Regions from separate parts of the Homo sapiens genome. Here regions 2, 3 and 4 are each linked to region 1. Evidence: promoter capture Hi-C in 16 types of primary human blood cells and fetal thymus (Javierre and others, 2016). All regions are on one chromosome and are shown on one strand. The core of a region is centred on a gene start or on the middle of the fragment in contact, and the rest is flanking DNA. Distances in the headings are between cores, read along the strand shown. Region 1 holds the start of UBL5 (ubiquitin like 5). Region 2 overlaps ZNF317 (zinc finger protein 317). Region 3 holds the start of CDC37 (cell division cycle 37, HSP90 cochaperone). Region 4 has its middle 5.7 kb from the start of ZNF699.

What was found. The method cuts DNA at HindIII sites, captures the fragments that hold promoters and counts their contacts. A CHiCAGO score of 5 or more calls a contact.
Region 2: a contact is called between a fragment that was not itself captured here and the fragment with the promoter of UBL5 in region 1, in 1 of 17 cell types (endothelial precursors). The highest score is 6.2, in endothelial precursors.
Region 3: a contact is called between the fragment with the promoter of CDC37 here and the fragment with the promoter of UBL5 in region 1, in 2 of 17 cell types (total CD4 T cells and non-activated CD4 T cells). The highest score is 10.5, in total CD4 T cells.
Region 4: a contact is called between a fragment that was not itself captured here and the fragment with the promoter of UBL5 in region 1, in 1 of 17 cell types (neutrophils). The highest score is 5.4, in neutrophils.

The regions. Positions count from the first base shown.
Region 1 is chr19:9,826,104-9,829,779 of GRCh38, reverse strand. UBL5 (ubiquitin like 5) reads right to left here and starts at 1,862. Exons shown (of 5, transcript NM_001048241.3): 1 at 1,796-1,862; 2 at 1,387-1,453; 3 at 1,105-1,188; 4 at 906-943. The coding sequence starts at 1,442. RefSeq lists a silencer at 1,746-2,052 and enhancers at 2,096-2,145, 1,556-2,280. The HindIII fragment of the contact is 5,434 bases long and covers 1-2,406 here.
Region 2 is chr19:9,150,126-9,153,801 of GRCh38, reverse strand. The region is part of intron 1 of ZNF317 (zinc finger protein 317); the gene reads right to left. Among named protein-coding and RNA genes, the nearest start is that of ZNF317, 12 kb to the right of the region's middle. The HindIII fragment of the contact is 1,338 bases long and covers 1,375-2,712 here.
Region 3 is chr19:10,401,578-10,405,253 of GRCh38, reverse strand. It overlaps CDC37 (cell division cycle 37, HSP90 cochaperone), which reads left to right and starts at 1,712. Exons shown (of 8, transcript NM_007065.4): 1 at 1,712-1,876. The coding sequence starts at 1,775. It overlaps MIR1181 (microRNA 1181), which reads left to right and starts at 1,716; the gene lies at 1,716-1,796. RefSeq lists silencers at 177-226, 1,937-1,996 and an enhancer at 1,187-1,536. The HindIII fragment of the contact is 3,760 bases long and covers 200-3,676 here.
Region 4 is chr19:9,313,718-9,317,393 of GRCh38, reverse strand. No RefSeq gene overlaps it. Among named protein-coding and RNA genes, the nearest start is that of ZNF699, 5.7 kb to the right of the region's middle. The HindIII fragment of the contact is 2,430 bases long and covers 736-3,165 here.

The sequences.
Region 1 (3,676 bases), core at 613-3,112:
CACACCTGTAATCCCAGCACTTTGAGAGGACGAAGCAGGTGGCTCACTTGACGTCAGGAGTTTGAGACCAGCCTGGCCAACACGATGAAACCCTGTCTCTACTAAAAATACAAAAAGTTAGCTGGGTGTGGTGGTGGGCACCTGTAATCCCAGCTACTTGGAAGGCTGAGACAGGAAAATCGCTTAAACCTGGGAGGTAGAGGCTGCAGTGAGCCAAGATTGTACCACTGCACTCCAGCCTGGGCAACAAGAGCAAAACTCCATCTCAAAAAAAAAAAAAAAAGTTTCTGTTCCTTCTAGGCCAGGCACAGTGGCTCACGGCTATAATCCCAGCACTTTGGGAGGCCGAGGCGGGAGGATCACTTGAGGCCAGGAGTTTGAGACTAGCCTGGCATACATGGTGGAACCTCATCTCTACTAAAAATACAAAAACTAGCAGGGAGTGGTGGCACACACCTGTAATCCCAGCTACTTGGGAAGCTGAGGCAGAATTGCTTGAACCCGGGAGGTGGAGGTTGCAGTGGGTCAAGATCGTGCCACTGCACTCCAGCCTGGGCGACAGAGCCAGACTGTCTCAAAAAAATAAATAAATAAAATAAAAATTGTAAAAAGTTTCTGCTCCTTTTGCACAATAGATATGCCTGAGTCTCACCCCACCCTGACCTACTGTCCAGCACTCAGGTGGAGGTCAGTAATAAATATTTTGAACTTGAAGTCAAACTATTTCACCAACCACTCTCCTCCCCAACCAAATAATTACCTAGCTCCCATTTTCTAAGTGCTCACCATGTGCCACGTATTAAGTTAAACACTTAATATGCATAAGCTCATGCAGACTTTAGTTTTGAACAGATAACCGAGGCTGGGTATGTAGATGCTTCCTCAAAAAGTCACACAAAGGATACAGTCCCCCAGAGACACGTGGTCCTTAAAAATCGTGTACCTAAGAAAAAGAGACATTTCAGAGATAAGGCTAAGGAGGCTCTTCAGTCTGTAGGCCAAATGAGGTAGCCAAGCCTAAGCAAAGGGCTGCCTGCAGCGCTCCCCCAACCAAAACCTTCCGGCCTAGTCCAGTCCACCCAGTGGCTCTACCGCTGCACTCACCACTTCTTCAGGACAATCTTGTTCCAACGGGTACCAGTTTGGGCTGCAATCAGCTTCTTAAGGTCCCCGATGGTATCATCCGTGCTGGGCGCAGAGCAGTTAAGGCAAATGGAAGCGGTAGAACGAGGAAGAGGACATTCTAGGGCAGAATACCATCTGCCAGGACCCCATCCGCCCCCTCTCCCGGGTTTAACTAAAACCATCCGACAACACAGATTGAGTTGCCTGCCTCACGCCAAGCACCCCTGCGGGTACCACTGCCTCTCGGCTGCCAGTGGATACTTGCATTTAACGCGGACCTTCTTCCCCAGACGGTCGTTGCAAACAACCTCGATCATCCTAGCTGGAGCTACACAAAGCGGGGGGTGGGTGGGAGGCAGCAAAGTCAGAGCTTCAGGCGTCTCCCAGGCCCAGAAGCCCCAGCCTACAAGTCTCCCAGTCCCAGGCCCTAAAATTCCAGGTTACTGAGCCTTCCGTTCTGCCCCCAACCCCCCGGACTCGAATACTCCCAGGCCCCAAGTCCCCTGTCCCAGGGCCGCGAACCCCGGGGAGCCGCGCCTCCGCCCCTTCTCGCCGCCTGAAAGCCCTGCCACAAAACTCCCTGGCCTCACCTCCCACCGACCCCAGACCCTGGGTGGCTGGGTCGCGACAGCTTTCTCCGACTCCGAGCCTCTCCGCTTGACCCCCTCACCTCGAATCGCCTCGAACCTGCCGACGCCACCAGCTCCTCACCCGAGCGCTGAACCCCGGTCGCAGTTAACGCTAGGAACCGGAAGCGGAAGTTAAAGTTCGAGGCCGGAAGCCCTGCCCCTAGCCAGGGGGTGTGGTCAACACTGGGACAAGTTCTTCCGGGTCTGCAGTCTGTGGTGTGTTTGCTGTTCCCAGGTACGGTTTCGGTGTCCCAAGGCTTGACAGGTGTCGCGCCTGTGGTAGGCGCGCCGGGTAGAGAGGGGGGCCTCGGCGGGTTTGTGGCCAGGGAAGGGGCGTGGAGCGAGAGTCAGAGGTCAGGCGCCGGCGCCCAGCTCGTTTGAAGTCATTGTTTGTTGCAGGGAGACTCGGTCACATGGTGGGGACGCCAGAGGGTCCCGGGAGTAGGGGTAAGCTCCTGATCCTGAGCCCGAAGCCTCTTGCAGCGGCAACTAGGAGCAAGGGCGGAGGGTGGGGGTGGGGGACGAGTTCTGCAGTCATCCCTTCTGACCCCCTGGGTTCATTCAGGGCTGGGCTTGGTGAGCATTTGGCTCACCTCTTCCCTCTGGCCATCGCGTTCCCCCGGGATACGGACTCCAGTCAGTAGGCGAAGCTTGATCCTAGAGTAGACTCTACGCTGCCCAACAGCTGCTGTTACCGCATGGTGCCGGACAGTTCCAGGCTCTTGGTGTCCTGAAGAAAGATTTGGACCAGACACACAGAGATGGCAAAGCTGCAAGTTTATTAAGCACAGTATTCCACTCTCGGAGTGGGGAGAGCGGACTGACCTCTGCGAGATAAGATCAGCCCCAGCTTGGTATAGTTTGGGTCTTTTTTTTTTTTTTTTTCTGAGACGTAGTCTCGCTCTGTTGCACAGGCTGGAGTGCAATGGCGCGGTGCCGGCTCACCGCAACCTCCGCCTTCCGGGTTCAAGCGATTCTCCTGCCTCAGCCTCCCGAGTAAGTAGCTGGGATTACAGGCGCCCGCCACCACGCCCGGCTAATTTTTGTACTTTTAGTAGAGATGGGGTTTCACCTTATTGGCCAGGCTTTTTTTCTCTTCCCAAGGCTGCCTAATATCTAGCCAGTGTCTACCTTTTTGAATGATAGGTGTGTTGCTTACTTTGGCCCCTGTGTGCTTGAGAGCCGCCTCCATTCATGATATGCCGTCCATATGCATGAGCGCTAATGAGCTGGTTATCCTTATCATGTTAAGGATACTTTTTGTCTTTAATGCGCGTGCTTATGCCTAAAGAGCTGCTCCTTACTGGTTTGGTCCTGATTTCCCCGGCCGTGGGATTTTTACTGTTTTTTTTTTAATTTTATTTATTTATTTATTTATTTATTTATGGAGTCTCGCTCTGTCGCCCAGGCTGGAGTGCAGTGGCGTGATCTGGGCTCACGGCAAGCTCCGCCTCCCGGGTTCACGCCGTTGTCCTGCCTCAGCCGCCTCCCGAGTAACAGGGACTACAGGCGCCCCCCACCACCCTCGGCTAATTTTTTTGTATTTTTAGTAGAGACGGGGTTTCACTGTGTTAGCCAGGATGGTCTCGATCTCCTGACCTCGTGATCCGCCTGCCTCAGCCTCCCAAAGTGTTGGGTGTGAGCCACTGTGCCCGGCCTTTACTCAGTTTTTAATCTTCCTTTTGTTTTGTCTCCTCAGCTTCTGCCATTTATCTTGCTTCTTGCTGGGTGAGCAAGAAGGGGCGGGTGCCCTTTCACCTTGCTTCTGCTCTCTGCTTTTACGTATTTTACCCTTTATCCAACTTTTAATTCCCTTTGCTATTCTTCTGCCTCATTTTCCCTATTCTCCTTTCTCACTGCCAGTCACCAACCTTAAATGCCTGCGAGGTAACTGGAAACATTGCACATTTGCACAATCTCCT
Region 2 (3,676 bases), core at 794-3,293, 680 kb after region 1:
CACTTCAGTCTTAGAGTCTCACGAAAATGTGGTGTCTATTTTCTTTGAGAATCATTCTCTATTCTCGGCTCCTCTACAACTGTCTCCTGGTTCTTTCCCTGCTTCTCTGGATCATCTGGACCATCCAGAGGTCCTCTTTCACCACTAAAGGCTGATTCTGCTCAAGAGCCATTCTTTACCCATTCCTTCGCATGCCTCATGCTTTGCCCAGGTAATCACATCCACTCATTTAACCTGAATCCCCATCTCTAACACTTAGGTTCCAGTAGGAACTCGAGATCTTATTCCCTTTGCCTAGGAAAAGCCACCAGTAAGACATCTCATACAAAAACCAGTTCCAGCCAGGTGCAGTGGCTCCCACCTGTAATCCCAGCACTTTGGGAGACCAAGGTGGGTGGATCACCTGAGGTCGAGAGTTCGAGACCAGCCTGACCAACATGGAGAAACCCCGTCTCTACTAAAAATACAAAGAATTAGCTGGGCATGGTGGTGCATGCCTGTAATCCCAGCTACTCGGGAGGCTGAGGCAGGAGAATCGCTTGAACCCGGGAGGCGGAGGTTGAGGTAAGCTGAGATCGTGCCATCACACTCTAGCCTGGGTGAGAGAGCGAGACTCAGTCTCAAACAAACAAACAAACAAACAAACAAACAAAAACAACTACCTTGACACACTAAACCTAGGGAAAGCAAAAGTGAAGAAATAAAGATTAAAGCAGAGACAAATGAAATAGAGAATAGGAGAATTAATGAAAACAAAAGTTGGTTCTTTCAAAAAGATCAACAAAGGTGACAAAACTACAGCTAGAATTACTAACAAAAAAAGATGCAAGTAACTAAAATCATCAGTGGAAGTGGGACATTACTACCGACCTTACGGAAATTCAAAGGGCTGTAAGAGAATGCCATGAACAATTATGCACCAACACATTAGATCATCTACACTAGCAGTCCCCACCCAATTTGGCATCAGAGACTGGTGTCATGGAAGACAATTTTTCCATGGATGGTGAGGTGAGGGGGGATGGTTTTGGGATGACTTGAGTGCATTACATTTATTGTGCACTTTATTTCTATTATTATTACATTGTAATATATGGTAAAATAATTATACAACTCACCATAATATAGAATTAGTGGAAGCCCTGAGAGTGTTTTCCTGAAACTAGATGGTCCCATCTGGAGGTGATGGGAGACACTGACAGATCATCAGGCATTAGATTTTCATAAGGAGTGTGCAATCTAGATCCCTTGCATGTGCAGTGCACAATAGGGTCTGCGCCCCTATGAGAATCTAATGCTGCTGATGATCTGACAGGAGGTGGAGTTCAGGGGTAATGTGAGTGATGGGGAGCCGCTGTAAATACAGATGAAGCTTCACTCACTTGCCCTCCGCTCACCTCCTGCGGCAGGGCCTTGTTCCTAAAAGGCCAGGGACCGGTACCTGTCTGTGGCCCAGGGCTTGGGGATCAATGCTCTAGATGTATCAAATTCCTTGAAACATACCCAAACAGGCTCTAGAAGAAAAAGAAAATTGAGAGACCTATAACAAGAGACTGAGGCAGTCATCAAAAGCCATTAAATAAAAAGTCCAGGACCAGCTGGGCACGGTGGCTCACGCCTGTAATCCCAGCATTTTGGGAGGCCGAGGCGGGTGGATCAGGAGGTCAGGAGATCGAGACCATCCTGGCTAACACGGTAAAACCCCATCTCTACTAAAAATACAAAAAATTAGCCAGGCGTGGTGATGAGTGCCTGTAGTCCCAGCTACTCGGGAGGCTGAGGCAGGAGAATGGTGTGAACCTGGGAGGCGGAGCTTGCAGTGAGCCGAGATTGCGCCACTGCACTCCAGCCTGGGCGACAGAGCAAGACTCCGTCTCAAAAAAAAAAAAAAAAAGTCCAGGACCAAGGGGCTTCACTGGTGAACCCTACCAAACATTTAGAATTAACATCAAGGACATTATCAAGAAAGTGAATGAGACACAGAATGGTGGAAAATATTTGCAAATCATGTATGTGATAGGGATTTAATATCATTATAAACTCAACAACAAAGACAACCCAGTAAAAAAGTGGGCAGGAGACTTGAACAGAACAGACATTTCTCCAAATTTACAGAAATGAACTGTAAACACATGAAAAGATGATTAACAACATCAGTCATTAAGGAAATAACATCAAAACCACAATACATTGGTGAGGTATGGTGGCCCACACCTCGGGAGGGGATTTAATTTGCTTTGTATGAACATGCCTCCTCTCTCTGGCTTCCACCGCGACTCTCATGACAGCACTGATGTAAGAACCGTGACGCTGCTACTTTAACATCTGACTCAGATCAATAATCAATATTACCACTTTTAAACATTACCAGGGTTATAACAATCTTTTTCAACATCAATTAGTATTTCTGCTATTGGAATTGTTTTAGATATTCAGAAACATTTCAAAACAATAATATAGGAAGTGTGTTTTAACGTATAAACTCTGCCTTGGGGATTCATTATTCAACACCAAATTTGATCTTGGGCCAACTCAAAGATGCATGACGCTTTCATTCTTTTTACAAAGCCCTTTTCTAGTCATTGTGCCTTTGGGTTCTGACATTAAGTCACTGCTGAGGAAGGGGAGAGAGGGTGACAGAGGCTCAGTTCCTGAGGCACAGTATCTCCATCCTCACCTACCATTCATTCATTCATGCTCAACTAACAAGCTTCTGCAGGTCCCATTCCACCTTTCCCCACCAACATTAATGCCAATTCTACAAATAACGACATGTGTAGTGTTTACAAGGTATGAGACATTCTCCTGAGTCTTTCCAGGGCCACTCCTATTTAATCCTCACAACCTCCCGGAATTATTCTCAAGTACCCAGAGAATAAGGCACCAAGGGTCCGAGACACTTGGTCAAGGTCATAGGTGGAAGTTGTGAGCCCAGCTGACGTGACTGCGGAGCCACATCTTGTTGCCTCTCAAAGTGACCTATGTCACCTGTACTGTCCCCTATGTGGGAACTCCTTGACACTACATCTTGACCCTTCCTTTGCCTGACCTCCTGACACATCATCTTGCTCACTATGAATCTATCTCCCTCTTCCTGGGAATGCCACTGCTCTTGCAGCCATAGCCCACTCATCCCAGTCTGTGCTCACATCTCTGGTTGCTCTTTTGAAGACTCTGGCTTGAGATCCCTCCTCTGCCCAGCCCCTAAAGGTCAGGGTTCCCCTGGGCCCCTCTCCCCCATCTCCCACAGGTCCACATTGTGAAACACCCCCACCATTTGGAGGTGCTGACACCCAGGTTCTGATTGCACTTCTGTGAAGGTCTCCCTGTCCCTGAGGCCTCAGTAGACTCCCCTTTAATGCAAGCCCACAGTTCTGCTCATTCCCCTCCCAAGAGTCAGTTCATCAAAACTCAGTTTTCTCATCTGGAAACTGAAGACTTTAACACTGGGTTATGTATGGAACTCTATAGGCTCAGTAAACAAACATTCACTCTAAAATGCCATTATCATTAAAATAAAATGACCACTGACGATTTCACAATTACTTAACAGAATTGTTCATTTATAGTGGGTGCCACTCTCCGCTCCCTGGCACCTGCCCCACCCAGAATGACTCAGAGTGAGTGGCAGCCAGGTGGCTACTTAGTATCCCTACTGCAACAGCCAACAGGATCC
Region 3 (3,676 bases), core at 463-2,962, 580 kb before region 1:
CGCGCCTATCCGGGAATCCCCGACATCTGGGATTCTCTCCAAACACCCCCAGGCTGATGACGGGGCCGAATCCCTAAAGGGCATACGGTGGGGGTGGGGGTACGACTTTCCTGGGGAGCCGGGGAACCCCCTACCTTCCTGGCCCCCTCCCACTGTGGCACCGTGTCCCCCTCCCCACCGCAGCTCGCAGCCCCAAGCTTACCTTGCGGGGGGCCTGGGGAGGGGATGCCCCGCCCTCCCTGGCCTGGGGGGCGGGAGGGGACGGGGGTGTCCAGACCCTTTGTTTGCTGGTGTGTGTGTGTATGTGTGTGTGCGATTGTGAGAGCCGCCGGGGTGTGGGTCCGTGCGCGCGCGTGCCCGGGCCGTGACGGCCACTGATGTGCTGGACTGCCAGGGTGGAGGGGAAGAGGGAGGGGTAGGAGATGGGGACTCCCCCGCCCCTGCCCGCCCACTCGCGGGTTTGAATGAAGCGCGAGGGGGAAGGGCGGCAGCGGGAGGACGTTTTTGTCCGATGGCCCTTCCCGCTCCATGCACCGGGGAATCCTCCCCCTTCTGGAGAACTTCGCTCGCTCTCTCCAGGCACTGCCTCCAACGTCGGCTCCAGGGGAGACTAGGAAGAGGCGCCCCTCACCGGAGTGGCTGGAGCTCCTCCTATCCAGCCTGACCCCCGAGGGAGCACCCTTTAATCTGAGATAATCCTGGCCCAAGGCTGCAACACGGCCTATTATCCTGGTATCAAAGCGTGGATTGGGATGCATGGAAGTGTGAGGTGGTCGAGGCCCTGCATGCTTAGAGTAATGGAGTCCTTAGAGCCCCGGCGGAGGAAGCGTACCCCAAGACGAACGGGGAGGGGCTATGCGTGGCCCCAGACTGTGACGACAAGGAAAGCCCCCTTCCACCCCTCCACGATTCCCCCCACCAAGCGCGGGGCCAGGAATACGCGCCGTGGGCTAGACTCTAGCGACACCCAGCGGCCAGCGGGGTGGGGAGCCGAGACCCGTTTTGAGGGGGTCCGGGTGATTCCAAAGTGTGTGTGTGTGTGTGTGTGCGTGTGTGTGTGTGTGTGTGTGTGTGTGCGCGCGCGCGCTCGCGCGAGTCCTCGCTGCGAATGGCAGGAGGTGGAAGACAAGGAGAAGGCTGTTGCCGAGGCGGGGAAACCCCAGCTCCCAAGGCAGGGCCACAGTCTCCCCTCCACGTTTAACCCTGCAAGGGGAGGGCCATACCACCCCCGATTTAGACACCCCCAGGGCAGGTCCAGTCCTCCTCGGGCTGAGAAAGTCCGAGGAGTCATCAGGCGCCCCTCTCCAGCGCAGGCTTAGGTCCCCGTTTACGAAGGGCAGGGGGAGGGCCTTCCCGCCGTGTCCCTACCCCTTGCAGACGTCACTGCGGCGTGGCTGAGGGGACAGTCCTCTCAGTCTCATCAACCGTCCCCTCCCTGCCACCCCAAACGCCCACCGTGGAGCGGCGGGAGATGAGGGGGGCTCGGAGTTGAAGCGCGCACTCATATGCCCCCAGGAGACCTAGCGGAGCCCCAGCGCCCGATGACGCGGAGTCTCTGCGGGAACTCCAGGGGGCCGGAACACTTACGCAGGGCCCTTTAAGGCTGGCTGGGTAGCTAGTGCCGCTGCCGCGGTTACTAGGGATGTGACGTCACACAGGGCGGGGTTTCCCGCGCTCGGCGGAAGCGGAAGGGGCGGGGCTCCGCGCTCCTAGTCTCCACTGCTGCCGCCGTCGCCGCCACCCGAGCCGGAGCGGGCTGGGCCGCCAAGGCAAGATGGTGGACTACAGCGTGTGGGACCACATTGAGGTGTCTGATGATGAAGACGAGACGCACCCCAACATCGACACGGCCAGTCTCTTCCGCTGGCGGCATCAGGTAAGGCGCGCGCGCCCATCCCTTTCCCCACTCCCGGACCCCGCTTCGGAGTTGTGATCCCCGATACTGCCCAGGGACCCCGCTGTTCACACCTAGGATTCTCACCCCCCCAGTCTGGATTTTCAGGAGCTTCGATTCAACTCCGGGACCCCAGTACCATTGGGACCCTGAGTCCCTGCCCTGGATCTCCGCTCCCCCACTCCCTGCTCCGATTTTTGCGTGGGATTCCCTATTCACCCCCTAGAACTTCTTCATAGTCTGGAGTCCCCTAGACGAGTCTTGGGGGTTCTCCCTAATTCTGTTCGGCAGTTAACATTTATACCCAGAACTCTGCCTCAAAGTTTGGACCCCAAATTCTTCTAGATGATCCCTCATCCTATTCGGGTATTCACTTCCTATCTGGGATCTCCCATCGCCCCCCCACCTCCGTAGTCTGGACCCCCAATACTTTGGTCTGTCCCGGGATCTACTTTCCGGGATCTTGATCCGGGGTTCCCATTCAGATCCGGAGTCGCCACTCCTTTTCTAAACGGAACAAGGAACTCTGTGCTACTCTGATATTCCTGTCCCTGCCCACACCCAGGACCCCCTTCCTAGAGTGTAGAACCGTCCCCCTTCAGGATCCTTAGTCTCACCGAGTACTTGGGTTTTGGAATCTGGTTCCCCTCTGGATCTAACTACCAGCTCCAACCCGATAGAGCCTCACATTCCAGCCTCTCCTTTGGCCTCCGGTAGACCCATTTCCCATTATACCAGGAAATCCTGCCCACGTGGCTTCCGGCCTAGCCAGAGCCCCTGCTCCTACTTGGTATTGCAGACCCTGTCACCACCCACTTCCCAGACTGGCTTCCTGTATGAGCCTCAGCCAGCATTGGAAACTCTCCCCTAACTCAAGCCCAGAACCCCAAACCCACCCCACCTTTTGTCCCCAGCCTGTTAGCTACTCTGTGACCCAAATTGTCCCTGCTCTTATCCAGGGACTCTCCTGGTCTGATTCTAAATTCACCACCCCTTCTTCTATCTGACCACAACAGAGGTCCCGAATCCAGACCCCAGAATCCCAAGCCTGGGTGATCCATGTCCCACCACCCTCTCAGTGCTCACGAGCCAATGGGATGACTAAGACTTAAAGGTTTAACCTCCTGCTACCCCAAATGAGTGTGCCTGCATTACATACCAGTGTCTGTTGTATTCCTTTTTTTTTTTTTTTTTTTTTTTTTGAGACGAAGTTTCCTTCTTGTCGCCCAGGCTGGAGTGCAGTGGCACAATCTTGGCTCACTGCAACCTCTGCCTCCCGGGTTCAAGTGATTCTCCTGCCTCAGCCTCCTGAGTAGCTGGGATTACAGGCATGATGCACCACCATGCCTGGCTAATTTTGTATTTTTGGTAGAGACAGGGTTTCTCCATGTTGGTCAGGCTGGTCTTGAACTTCCGACCTCAGTTGATCCACCCACCTCGGCCTCCCAAAGTGCTGGGATTACAGGCGTGAGCCACCGCACCCAGCCATGTTGTGCTCTTAAACGAAGGGCATATACCTCTCAGAACCTTCTAGTGAGGATCTCTTACCCCACCCTCCCATAGGGCAATTCCCCATCATTTATCCAGAAACAACTAGAAGGTCCCTTTCCCATCCTTCCAGAATACTCTGGAATACGGCATTAGTCTCTTCATCTAGCTCCCAGTCCCACTTCCAGACCTATTCCTTAAATCCTGAGTCTCCTGGGTAGTGTACCTGCCAAGCAAGCCACTGGAGTGTGGGAAGAAAGTTCTAGCGCTTCTATTTCTTGCCGTGTGTAACAT
Region 4 (3,676 bases), core at 701-3,200, 510 kb after region 1:
AGTTATCGCACGCCGTGCAAAAACCCAAGGAGGTGGCAGTCTTACACTGCCGAAGCCATCAAAAAGGTGAAGGAGAAAAGGCAGAAGGAAACTGTCAGGCAGACGCTGAGGCTAAAATTGCTGCCAGGCAGAACCTCCCATTAGAAATACCCTTGTTATGGAACAAGGTTCCATATTGTTATTATTACCCATAATAAGGACCCTTGTTATGGAACAACCCTCTCCAGGAGATTAAGCCCCAGTATTCTCCGACAGAAACAGAATGAGGACTTTCACGGGGGCATAGTTTTCTCCCCTTGGTGTGGTTAATGACAGAAGAGGGAAAGGTACTCATACCCGAAGCCAGCCAGTGGAAAATACTTAAGACCCTCCACCAAACTTTTCATATGGGTATTGAGAGCACTCATCAAATAGCTAAATCCCTATTTACAGGGTCAAATCTCCTCTGAACCATCCAACAAGTAGTCAGAGCCTGTGAGGTGTGCCAAAGGAATAATCCCTTGGTTCATTGTAAGGCCCCTCTTGGGGAACAAAGAATAGGGCACTATCCTGGAGAGGACTGGCAATTAGACTTCACCCATATGCCTAAGTCAAGTGGATTTCAATACTTGTTGGTCTGTGTTGATGCTTTTACAAATTGGATAGAAGCCTTCCCCTGCAAGACAGAGAAGGTTCAGGAAGTGGTTAAAGACCTAATTCATTAAATAATTCCTAGATTTGGGCTTCCCCAAAGCTTACAAAGCGACAACAGTCTGGCTTTTAAAGCCACGGTAACTCAGGGAATTTCCAGGGCACTAGGGATAAAATATCACCTTCACTGCACCTGGAGGCCACAATCCTCAGGGAAGGTCTAGAGGGCAAATGAAACACTCAAGAGGCACCTAAGGAAACTAACACAAGAAACTCATTTCCCATGGCCTACTCTGTTGCCCATGGCCTTGTTGAGAATCCGAAATTCTCCTCACAAAATGGGGCTCAGTCCATATGAAATGCTGTATGGATGACCTTTTCTCACTAATGACCTTCTACTTTATCAGGAAATGGCCAGTTTGGTCAAAGATATAACTTCTTTGGCAAAATATCAATAAAATCTTAAAAACCTACCCGAAGGATGTCACGAAGACAAGGGAACAGAGTTGTTCCAACCAGGAGATCTAGTGTTGGTCAAGTCCCTCCCCTCTACCTCCCCATCTATGGATTCCTTGTGGGAAGGAACATACTCCGTAATCCTCTCTACCCCCACTACAGTTAAGGTGGCAGAAGTGGAATCTTGGATTCACCACACCCGAGTTAAACTTTGGACACCCGTTATGAAGGAAAATACCCTTTCCAACTTGTAAATATGCAATCATTAGCCAACTTCCCCATCTCCGATAGGACCAAAAATACCCTAACAGGACGTACAATCCAGCTTTTACGCTCTTACATTTCCAACTTCATCTATTACATGAGCAATGAAAAACCCATACATGGCCCTGTAACCGCGAATACCATCTTAACTTTCCAAGCCCCTTTATGCATCCAATGGAACCTGTTATCAGGCCTGCCCCTGGGACACCTGCTATCCCATCAGTGTAATTATACCCTACAACTTCAAGCCCCAACTGATCATAGTAACTTCCGAGTCACCCAAACAGCTCCATTCAGATGGCTTGTCTGCTTCTCAGGGCCCCCTAAAATCATCACCTCCTCCCTGCTTAAACAGTTTGTAATGGCAAACATCCTCCCTGCATGACCATTCACCCCTGGAACCCCTGCAGCAGCGCCCCCACCACTAATGAATGCCTTCTCATCCCCTCTTTCAATCACTCTCTTGAATGGTTCCTAGTAGATACAAAATGGTTTTTTCTCTAATGGGAAAATAGAACACAGGGAGCCACTCAGTTTGCTCCCAATACCCCTTTCCAGCTGCTCACTGGAGCTACCTTGACAAGTACTCCAGGAGTATGGGAAAATGAAAAGAACAAACTCACACGCCTTTTTAACATACACAACCATTTCTGTCTACCCAGCCAAGGCATATTCTTCCCATGTGGAACTTCAACCTATATCTGCCTCCCCACCAACTGGAGACGCACCTGCACCTTAGTCTTCCTAAGTCCCAACATTGACATTGCCCCAGGAAATCAGACCCTATCAGTGCCCCTCAAAGCTCAAGTTTGTCAGTGCAGGGCCATACAACTAATACTCCAACTTATAGGGTTAGGAATGGCCACTGCTACAGGAACTGGAATAGCCAGTTTATCTACTTCATTATCCTATTACCACACACTCTCAAAAGATTTTTCAAACAGTTTGCAAGAAATAAAATCTATCGTTACTCTACAATCCCAAATAGACTCTTTAGTGGCAGTGACTGTCCAAAACCGCTGAGGCCTAGACCTCCTCACTGCTGAGAAAGGAGGACTGTACATTCTTAAGGGAAGAGTGTTGCTTTTACACTAACCAGTAAGGGATAGTATGAGATGCCGCTTATCGTTTACAGGAAAAGGCTTCTGAAATCAGACAACGCCTTTCAAACTCTTATACCAACCTCTGGAGTTGGGCAACATGGCTTCTCCCCTTTCTCAGTCTCAGGACAGCCATCTTGCTATTACTTGCCTTTGGGTCCTGTATTTTTAACAACCTTGTCAAATTTGTTTCCTCCAGGATCGAGGCCATCAAGCTACAGAGGGTCTTACAAATGGAACCCCAAATGAGCTCAACTCAGAACTTCTACTGAGGACCCCTGGACTGACCCACTGGCCCTTTCACTGGCCTAGAGAGTTCCCCTCTGGAGGACACTACAACTGCAGGGCCCCTTCTTCACCCCTATCCGGCAGGAAGTAGCCCAGAGCGGTCATCACCCAGTTCCCAACAGCTGTTGGGTGACCTGTTTAGAGGGATAATTGAGAGGTGAGGCCAGCTGGACTTCCTGAGTTGAGTGGGGACTTGGGGAACTTTCCTGTCTTACAAGCGGATTGTAAAATGCACCAATCAGCACTCTGTAAAACGCACCAATCAGCAGGATTCTAAAAGTAGCCAATCACAGGGAGGATTGAAAAAAGGGCACTCTGATAGGACAGAAACGGAACATGGGAGGGGTCGATAAGGGAATAAAAGCTGGCCACCCCCCCCCAGCCAGCAAGGCAACCCGCTAGGGTCACCTTCCACGCTGTGGAAGCTTTGTCCTTTCGCTCTTCACAATAAACGTTGCTCACTCTTTGGGTCCATGCCATCTTTAAGAGCTGTAACACTCACTGCAAAGGTCCGCAGCTTCATTCTTGAAGTCAGCAAGACCACAAACCCACCAGCAGGAACCAACTCTGGACACATTATCTCCTTTACAGCTTGGGTCCAGAGAGCTGCCTTAGACTCTCCAGTGAATCTATTCAAACAGCTGCCTCTGTTATCTTGACTCATCTCAGATTTCGTCCACCTGAGACACGTGCTGGTACTAGGAATGTAAGACTGTCTGTATTATTTTGGCTTGCTCCAGGTTAGGGAGAAGCCCGTGTGAAGCTTCAACTGACCATGTGTTTCATTTCTAGCTTTGATGTCTGGGCACTGATTTCCCTAGATTTAACTATTTGCTCAATGTTAAGGCAGTTTTGTGGAAATTTGTCTGTGTAACAGAAGTGCTGTGCAGGTCTGTCTGTGTGACTGTCATGCAGGCCTGTCTGTGTGATTGTCAGGG